Linked DNA regions of Homo sapiens: all the other regions are linked to region 2. Evidence: promoter capture Hi-C in human tissues and cell types (Jung and others, 2019). All regions are on one chromosome and are shown on one strand. Each heading gives the region's core, a stretch centred on a gene start or on the middle of the fragment in contact. The rest is flanking DNA. Distances are from core to core; before and after follow the strand shown. Region 1 has its middle 3.5 kb from the start of HAR1B. Region 2 holds the start of SLC17A9 (solute carrier family 17 member 9). Region 3 has its middle 28 kb from the start of MIR124-3.

Evidence for each region. Contacts are between HindIII fragments. The study calls those that stand out against the background at their distance.
Region 1: a fragment that was not itself captured here is called in contact with the fragment with the promoter of SLC17A9 in region 2 in 2 of the 25 tissues and cell types used here (IMR-90 fibroblasts and small bowel).
Region 3: a fragment that was not itself captured here is called in contact with the fragment with the promoter of SLC17A9 in region 2 in 3 of the 25 tissues and cell types used here (dorsolateral prefrontal cortex, heart left ventricle and lymphoblastoid cells).

The regions. Positions count from the first base shown.
Region 1 is chr20:63,104,406-63,107,304 of GRCh38, forward strand. No RefSeq gene overlaps it. Among named protein-coding and RNA genes, the nearest start is that of HAR1B, 3.5 kb to the left of the region's middle. The HindIII fragment of the contact is 8,680 bases long and covers 1-2,899 here.
Region 2 is chr20:62,951,386-62,954,085 of GRCh38, forward strand. SLC17A9 (solute carrier family 17 member 9) reads left to right here and starts at 1,324. Exons shown (of 13, transcript NM_022082.4): 1 at 1,324-1,504. The coding sequence starts at 1,446. RefSeq lists an enhancer at 734-1,563 and silencers at 1,115-1,434, 1,445-1,544. The HindIII fragment of the contact is 20,012 bases long and covers 1-2,700 here.
Region 3 is chr20:63,149,268-63,151,967 of GRCh38, forward strand. No RefSeq gene overlaps it. Among named protein-coding and RNA genes, the nearest start is that of MIR124-3, 28 kb to the right of the region's middle. The HindIII fragment of the contact is 7,630 bases long and covers 1-2,700 here.

The sequences.
Region 1 (2,899 bases), core at 76-2,575, 150 kb after region 2:
ATATTGTCCATGGCTGCTCGTGTGTCCAGGCACATACCAGGAGGCTACAGACGGAGCTGGATTCTTTCCGGCCCTTTGCTGGAGGCATTGCTGACCCCTGCTCTGAGGCTCCCCATGGCTCTCAGGATCCAGACCCCAGGCTTCCCAGGACATTGGGGGCCAATGGCTCCCTGAGTGCCCTCCTCCCCAGCTCTTCTCCCACCCCTGCCCCCCCAGGAGCCCTCACCATGTGCCACTCACTGCCCACGCAATCTGACCTGTGAAGGGCAGACAGAGGAGCAAGCCTGCCTGAAAAGGAGGACTCTGACTTTGCCACTCCGCTGCCCTGCCTGGCCCCACTGTGGTGTTACCAGGAAAGGCCATGGCAGAGGGACATGCCCACGAGCTGCCCTGGGGGAGAGCGGCTGGGGCAGGGAGGGCAGCACTGCCCTCAGAAAGCCCCGCGGTGGTGCCCCTACCTCCCCTGGGTTCCAGGAGTGTGGACAGACCCTGCTGGGAGCAGATGGCACTTCTGCAGCTGAGGCCTGCTGGACGCTGGGCCATGCCGGGGACTTGAGCCTGGGGCCACACGCTCCTCCTGGCCGATGTCACCACTCCTCTTCCAACAGTCTTGGCCCCGGGGTGGGCCTGCTCCCCGCCCACTCTCTGTGTGGACGGATCATTGCTGCCGCCCTCTGTTCCTCCCTCCCAGGACTCAGAAGAGGGGCCTGGTGTGAACAGGAGGCAACCGCTGACCCCTGGCCTGTGCCCACGCAGAGGCCACCTCCCAGTCTGGTCTCTCTGGGCCAGCCCCTGGAGTGTGCAAAATTGAAAAATAGAAATTCCTGGGAAGTGCTGACTCTCCTGCAGTGCTCAGAGGTTCGCCAGGCCTGTGCCTGTCTTGGCCGGGCCCACGGCTCTCAATGTGGTGGCCGCCATCCCGCCAGCCTTGGCCGCTCGGGGACTGTGGGCTGTGTGCCTCTGATGTTGCATGGGAGCTCAGATCCCCCATCTGTGGACTGAGGCCTCTCAGCCTGGTGGCCGCTAGACCCAAATAACACGTGGACCCGGCCCGGCCGGGTCAGACCCCATCGAACACTTGGGGGTTCCTGTCAATCACAGGCCCTATGCCTTGCCCGGTGCCTCAACGCCCACGGGGTCAGCCTGTTCCACTTCCTGACACCCTCCTCTGCACTGGGCCAGCCTGGCAACCCCACCTCCGCCACAACATAACCCCGGATCTGCCCCACCCCCACCCTCCCACAGAACGCCACTGCGCTCCCGCCCAAGTCAGTGTTTCAGGAGGAGCACAGCAGAAGGTGCAGGAAGCCGAGTCTGGCCAACACCCTCCAGAAACTCATTCCTGCATCCCCCTGGGAGACCTGGACTGGGACATGGGCACAGGGAGGACCTCTATGCTCTGGGGCGTGGGGGTGGGTAGAGTCAGGAGGGGATGTGGCAGGAAACATGCCCAGCCGCTCTCCGAATCTGCAGGAGGCACCTGCCATGCAGCTCGGACCTCCCTGGGCTTCCGGGCTTGGTGACCACAAGGCTGGGCTGAGGGTGGGGGCAGCTGGCCCAGTAGGGGCGGCGCAGGTGACCCAGAACAGGGGCTGTGGGAGGTTAAGGGCTTGCTGGAGCCAGGCTCCGGGGCTCCTGGAGGAGGGGAGACCACAGGAAGACCTGGTCCTGGAGGGTCCTGGCCCCGTGGGCACTCCGTCTTTCTTCCTAAGGAACAACCACACCTCTCCTGCAGCCCGAGCTTTTCTTAGAGACCAAGGAGGCCGAACAAGAAGCATATTTTCCACATAACCTTTGCTTTCCCATGGGAAGGGACGATGGCCTGCACTTGCTGGCAGTTTTGGAGGCATGCCCAGAAGTTTGTGTATCTGTGGATGCTGGGCCAGGCATGGGCGGGACCGTGTTGGGAGGGGCCTCGTTGCTGGTGTCGAGGGAATGAGCTCCTCACAGGCCTCTGGACAGTGGCCCCAGGGCGCCCAGCCCCTTCTTATCCTAATCGAGATCCCTAGAGGACACCCTGTGTCCCCTGAGTTCTCCAGGGCTGAGGCTATCTCTGCCCCATGTCTCAAGCCTCAAGAGGCTCCCCTCTTTCTTACCCGAAGAAACTGTGGTTGGCAGGACAACAACAGTCCCCCAAACGTGTCCACGCCCCAATCCCAGGACCCCGTGACCCTGTCCCCAAGTGGTACAGGAACTCTGCAGATGGGACTGAGTTAAAGACCCCGTGACTCTGCCCCCACGTGGCACAGGGACCCTGCAGGTGGGACTGAGTTAAGGATCTTGAGCCAGGAGGTCATCCCTGTATAATTCTATTCTATGCCATAATCTCTTTACATATAAAATAAACCTAATTGTATGTAATCTGTATTTATATATTTTATTTATGTTCCTTCCTCCTTATAGGAGCGAGGCAGGAAGTGAGGCCATGGGAGCAGAGGTCAGCGAGCTGCAGTGTGAGGATGGAGGAGGGGCCACAAGCCAAGGGATGCGGGCGGCTCCAGAGGGTGGGGTGGCAGGAAGCAGGTTCTCTACGGGAGGCTCTGGAAGGAGCCAGCCCTGCAGACAGCAAGATTTTAGCCCAGTGAGACCCGCTCTGACCTCCAGGACAGGAAGACGACACGTCGTACTGTTTTAAGGGCTCATTTTGTGGTTTGTGGAGGCAGCCACTGGTTCTGACACCAATCGACCCTGATTCCTCCAGTGAGTCCAAGAGCACAGAACAGACTCCCACTCTGGCTGAGGACACGGTGAGGGAACTGTGGTGACCCCAGTTCCGTTCATGTGGCTGTCACTCCAGGAGGATGGCTCTAGAGCAGGGAGGGGCCAAAGAAGGCGAAAGCAGACAACGGGTAGCCCATGCTGGGAGGGGTTGCATGTGTGGCAGCCACCTCTGAGCGGG
Region 2 (2,700 bases), core at 74-2,573:
CTCAGCCCAACCTATTTGAAGTAACACCCCTTCCCTACCCCTTTCACTACTTTGATTTTTGTCTACCTGCCCCAGAACATCAGCTCCAGGAGGAAGGGGACTTTGGGTAACCAGATGGCAAATGTCTGCTGCAGCATGATCACAGATCTCGGTAGGAAATCACCATCACAGAGTGAATGGAAGCGAATCACCTCAAAGAGGGTGCTGTTGACAGCGATACGTTTAGCAACAGTTTCCAAACTTCCTGGCTATGGGCTAGGGCTGTTTGGGGCAATAAACCTCTCTCTGCCACCATCTTTTCACCTACCCTACGTCAGGATGGATGAAAGTATGACCTTGCTTTTCAGGGTGCCCGTGTCTTTCTGTTCAGAGGGCCCTGGGAGCAGGCCCTGCAGTGCAGTGGGTTGGGCTGTTGGAGACCTGAGGGCTAGGGGGAGGGAGGGGGTAAATGTGGGTCTGTTCTAAGTGCAAGGCCCTGCCTTAGACGTGTCTCCCTCGGCCCCTGGGTGGTGGCTGCTGCGTGGAGGATGGACTGAGGTGGGCCCTAGTGGAGGTGGGGGCAACGCCTGAGGAGCAGGCCCTGCCGCCTCCTGGGGAAAGGCTGCATGGTTGAGGCCTTCCCCTGCTGGCTTCATCCTTGGCATGGCAGCAGGAGCACACAGAGTGGGGGCCCCACCCCGTCACCCCTGCCCCCGAGCCCAGAACCTGGCCTGTGATGGGTCCTCAGGACACCTTTTGTCCAGGAACCCAGGGGCCAATGACAACCTTCACAGGCATCTGCTGAGAAGACATGGGCCAGCGCTGGATTTGTCCAGCTCTCCCAGGCTTGGTCCAAGGGCTCAGGAGTGGACCCATCCCTGCCCCGAAAGATCCATTTTAAAAATCAGTGACCCTGTACTTTTACTCTCTTTGCACTTGGTTAAGACTTTATCCCTGATTTTATTTGATCGGTAAGGCAGGGACTGCCATCATTCCCCATTTTATAGACAGAGGACAGACGGCCCCATGGCTCCGTGTCGTGTCCAAGGGATGGGCTGGCACCTCTTGGACCAGGCTTACCACCAGGGCCCTTCTCTGAAGCCCCAGTCTGACCGGCCTGCTGCTGGGAATCCCCCTCTGCCCCCACACTAACCTCTGCTGGGGCTGAGCCAGGGCGCGTCGGACAGTCAGGGCGACCCAGCCAGGGCGACCGTTGGCCCCGCTCCTATGGGGCAGCAGGGACCGACGTCAGCAGGGTGGGGCGGGCACCCGAGTGGTATGCCCCGCCCTGCCCCGCCTGCCCGCCCTGGTGGCCGTCTGGGGGCGACAAGTCCTGAGAGAACCAGACGGAAGCGCGCTGGGACTGACACGTGGACTTGGGCGGTGCTGCCCGGGTGGGTCAGCCTGGGCTGGGAGGCAGCCCCGGGACACAGCTGTGCCCACGCCGTCTGAGCACCCCAAGCCCGATGCAGCCACCCCCAGACGAGGCCCGCAGGGACATGGCCGGGGACACCCAGTGGTCCAGGTGTGGCGGGGGTGAGGGGAGGGGGGGTGGGAGCGGTGGAGATGGGGCCGTGGGGAGGGAGCTGAGATACTGCCACGTGGGACGATGCTAGGTGGGGAGGGCTGAGCTGGGCGGGCTCCTCTGGCTGTGGGGCCCCCTGTGTTCCTTGTGGGAGGTGGAAGGAAGTGAGTGCCCTGTCCTTCCTCCCTGCCATGAGATTCCAGGACCGGACCTGGCAAGTGCCCTATCCCAGCCAGTGTTCCTGGGGCTCTTCCAGGCAGGGCTATGTTCCCCAGGCCAGGGGCATTGTCCTGGACAGTCAGGAGGCATACCCCTCGCCAGGTGGAACCACCCTGTGTATGCATGACCCTGACAAGCAGGCGCCAGGACAGTCAGGAGGCCAGGTAGGGGGCACGGGCTGGAGCCTGCAGCTGGACGGGGTTGGGGGGGGTCCTGCCACCACGTGCCAGCTGTGTGCTGAGGACGAGCTCCCCGCTGGCTTCAGCTCTCGGAGCATTTGGTGGTGGGGAGAAGCAGGGCCTGGGCAGGTCGCCTGGCCACCAGCACTGCTGCCTGTAGGAGGCTCCCTGGGCAGGTGACGCCTCAGAAACCGGGCGAGATGGTGACCGCGGGCCATTGGTCAGCTGGGGAGGGCCTCTGCCAGGGAGCTCCTGAGAGCAGCCCCCACACTGCTGAACCCCTTGGCTCTGGGTCTTGGGCTGAGGCCTTAAGTGGCTGGACCCTGGGCCTAGACTCAGGCCCTGTGGGTTCCAGAGCAGTCTCCTGCCTGCACTGAGTCCCCAGGGTACCTACCCTGACCATGGCAAGGTAATGGCACCTTCTGGCCCCACCAGTTCCCAGCTGTATGAGGGCTGAGGACCCTAGAAGTGCTGGGAAGAGTTGTAGGAAGGCCCAAAGGGGCAGTGCCACCATCGGATGTTGGCACCCAGATGAAGGGAGCGCTGGCTGCATGGGAAAAGCTGGCAGCCCAGATCACAGCCCTGTCAGGCGCCAATTAGAGGGGAGGGCTGCCCTCAGCGGGCCCTGCCCCTTGCTCTCTTCCTCTTCCCCCACCCACGTTCATCCAGGCCTGCCGGGCAGGGCCAGCTCCCCAGGGATTCAGGGCCTCCTCACTGGCGGCTGGTTTGAGTGGCTCCGCCTTCACTACGTCCCTCCCAGGCTCGATGTTTAAAAAGGAGCCCTTGCCGCAGCCTTCA
Region 3 (2,700 bases), core at 173-2,672, 200 kb after region 2:
GCCACAATAATTCACTTTCCACCTGGGTTTGTTTGTTTGTTTTTGAGAGAGGGTCTCGCTCTGCTGCCTAGGCTAGAGTACAGTGGCACAATCACGGCTCACTGCAGCCTCCACCTCCTGGGCTCAAATGATCTTCCCACTTCAGCCTCCTGAGTAGCTGGGACTACAGGCGTGTGCCGCCACACCCAGCTAATTCATATTTTGTTTTTTGTAGAGACAGGGCCTCACTATGCTGCCCAGGCTGGTCTTAAACTCCCTCCTGGCCTCCAGCAATCCTCCTGCCTAGGGCTTACAAAGCACTGGACCTACAGGCGTGAGCCACCACACCAGCCTGTCTGGGCATTTTGACATCATGCAGACGCAGCACAGAACTGACCTGAGGGATCCAACAGCTCACCCGCCCTGAGGTTTCTGGGTCTGCAGCTGGGCCCAGGCCTGCAGTGCACACAGCTGTTCCCAGCACGTGCCTGTCCCTTCGACTCAGTGCACACAAGAAACCAGATGAGCCCACGACTGCTGGGACCGAGGCTGCCTCGAGTCCCCCACAACCGAAATGTCCCCTCCAGACAGAGGCCTGGAACAAACAAGGCTCAACTAAAAATAGACTTAAGCATGAGAGATTCAGAGGAAGGCAGCTATTTTTGGTTTGGTGTGTTTTTGCAAGGAAAGATGAGAAAAAGAGGCTCCCTCGAGGCTGGAGAGGGAAGTGTGTAAGAGGGGCACAGGGGACTTGGGGAGAAGCCACAGCTCCTTTTGTCTGTCCTGGGCTGACTCGTCTGCCTGAAATGTTGAAATCCCGACCCCCAGGACTGCTAGGGGAGCTCTAGTTGGAAGCAGAGTCCTTGCAGATGTTATCGGTTAAGATGGGGTGACACTGGATTGGGGGGACCTCAAATTCAGTAACTGTCCTTATAAGAAGTGGGAGATACGGAGACACAGGTAGAAGCCACGTGAGATGGGGTGACAGTGATGCGGCCACCAGCCAACGGCAGCAGATTTCTCTGGTCGTTTCTCTGGCTAGAGAAATAACACCTCCCCGAGCTGCATGTGGTGCAGCGGGACCCACACGGTGACCCCGGCTGTGCGTCTGGGAGGGCGGTGGGTGCTGGACCCCTCCCCACCAGGAGATGAAACACGTGCAATGACAGCAACCCAGGCAAGTCCCCGGGGAGACTCAGAGCCCCGGGCGGGGAAGGGTGGGGAAGGGCTGTCCCAGGAGGAGGCACTTGCCAAAGAGGCAGTCGCCATGCTGTTGGCTGCAGGTCGGGGGGAGACTGAGACCCACCCAGGTCAGCAGGGGCTGGGAGCGCGGGTCAGCAGAACGCCCCAGGGAAACCGGGTGGGTGCAGCATCTGGGAGGGGATTTGCCCTGCGAGGCTCCTCGTGGGGCCCTTTAAGCCACCAGGTCTCCCAGTGGGATCAGAGCAGGATCCCATGGCCTGAGGTGGGGCTGCGTCTGGCTCCAGCCCCCACCCCTCATCTGTGCCCACGTGCACCCCAGCCCAGACCACGCCCAGCTGATCACAGGCCGGGCGAGCTTGAAGGTGCTTGGAGAGGTCAGAGTCCAGCCAGGCTGGGTCTCAGAGCGACCCCCGTCTCTAGCCTCAGACAAGGTGCCCCTCTCCAGCCCTCAGACACTGGCCTGGCCTGATGAGAGGGACATGGCTGGCAGAGGTTTCTTCCCAGGTTTGATCAGAGCCAGAGCAGGGGAAAGTTTCCCTGTTGGGGGTGTCGATACTTTGGGAAAATGGGTTCCTGGTCCCAAGGTTGACGTCCCCCTGGCAGAGTGGGCCGCACCGAGGTCAGGACACGAAGGGTCTTCTCCTGGGTCTGCTGGAGTCGGGGGCAACCTGCAGCCTTAGGGGTGGGGGGTGCGGGTGTCATGGACGTCAGCCCCACCTCCTCTCCTGCAGCCACCTGAGGCCCACCCACCTCCTCATCCCTGTGCCCAAACCCGCACCCTGGTGCCCAGCACTTGGGGGCGCCCACAGATGTGTCCGTGACCACCTTGGGAAGTGGCTATGCGTGTGCCGCAGCCCCACCGGGGTGGCTGGGAGGTGCCCTCGGAATGATTCATGCAGTGACTTCCCTGTGGCCTGGCCCATGGCAAGTGCTCTGGGGACGTGATGGTGGTGCAGGGAACATCGCCCCGGGCCTGCAGCTCCCGCCCACGAGCTGTGCCCAAACCTCCCCTCAGGCCTGCAGCTCCCGCCCACGAGCTGTGCCCAAACTTCCGCTAAGGCCTTGGGCCCAGCTGGATGCAGGGAGCAGGGGGTGCGCTGGGCAGAGAGGGGTCTCCAGGCAGGGACCTTAAAAAAGGATCCCTTCCGTGCTGCCGGTCAGGCCCCTCCAAGTACTCTCTGGAAAAGGATTTCAAAGTCCAGCCCCGTGCCGTCCACCCAGGCTTCCCTGAGAGCCACGCCCCAGGGCCCTGTTTCTTGAGAAAATCCCAGCATGAAAAACAGTTGGGAGGAAAACAGTTTGCTGGGTCTCCAAGGCCCCTCGGAGAGCACCCTCCCGAGGAGGCCTCTGAGCCACCTGGTGCCACCGGAACAGCTGCAGCCGCCTGGAGAGCCAGAGGGAGCCGGGTGGGGCCCGGGGGTGGCGCTGGCATCGCGGAACACCCCCGCCCGCGTTCCAAACGAAAGCACATCACCCCCAAGCGACGCGACCTAGGGGCGAGTTTTAAAAGGAGCACTT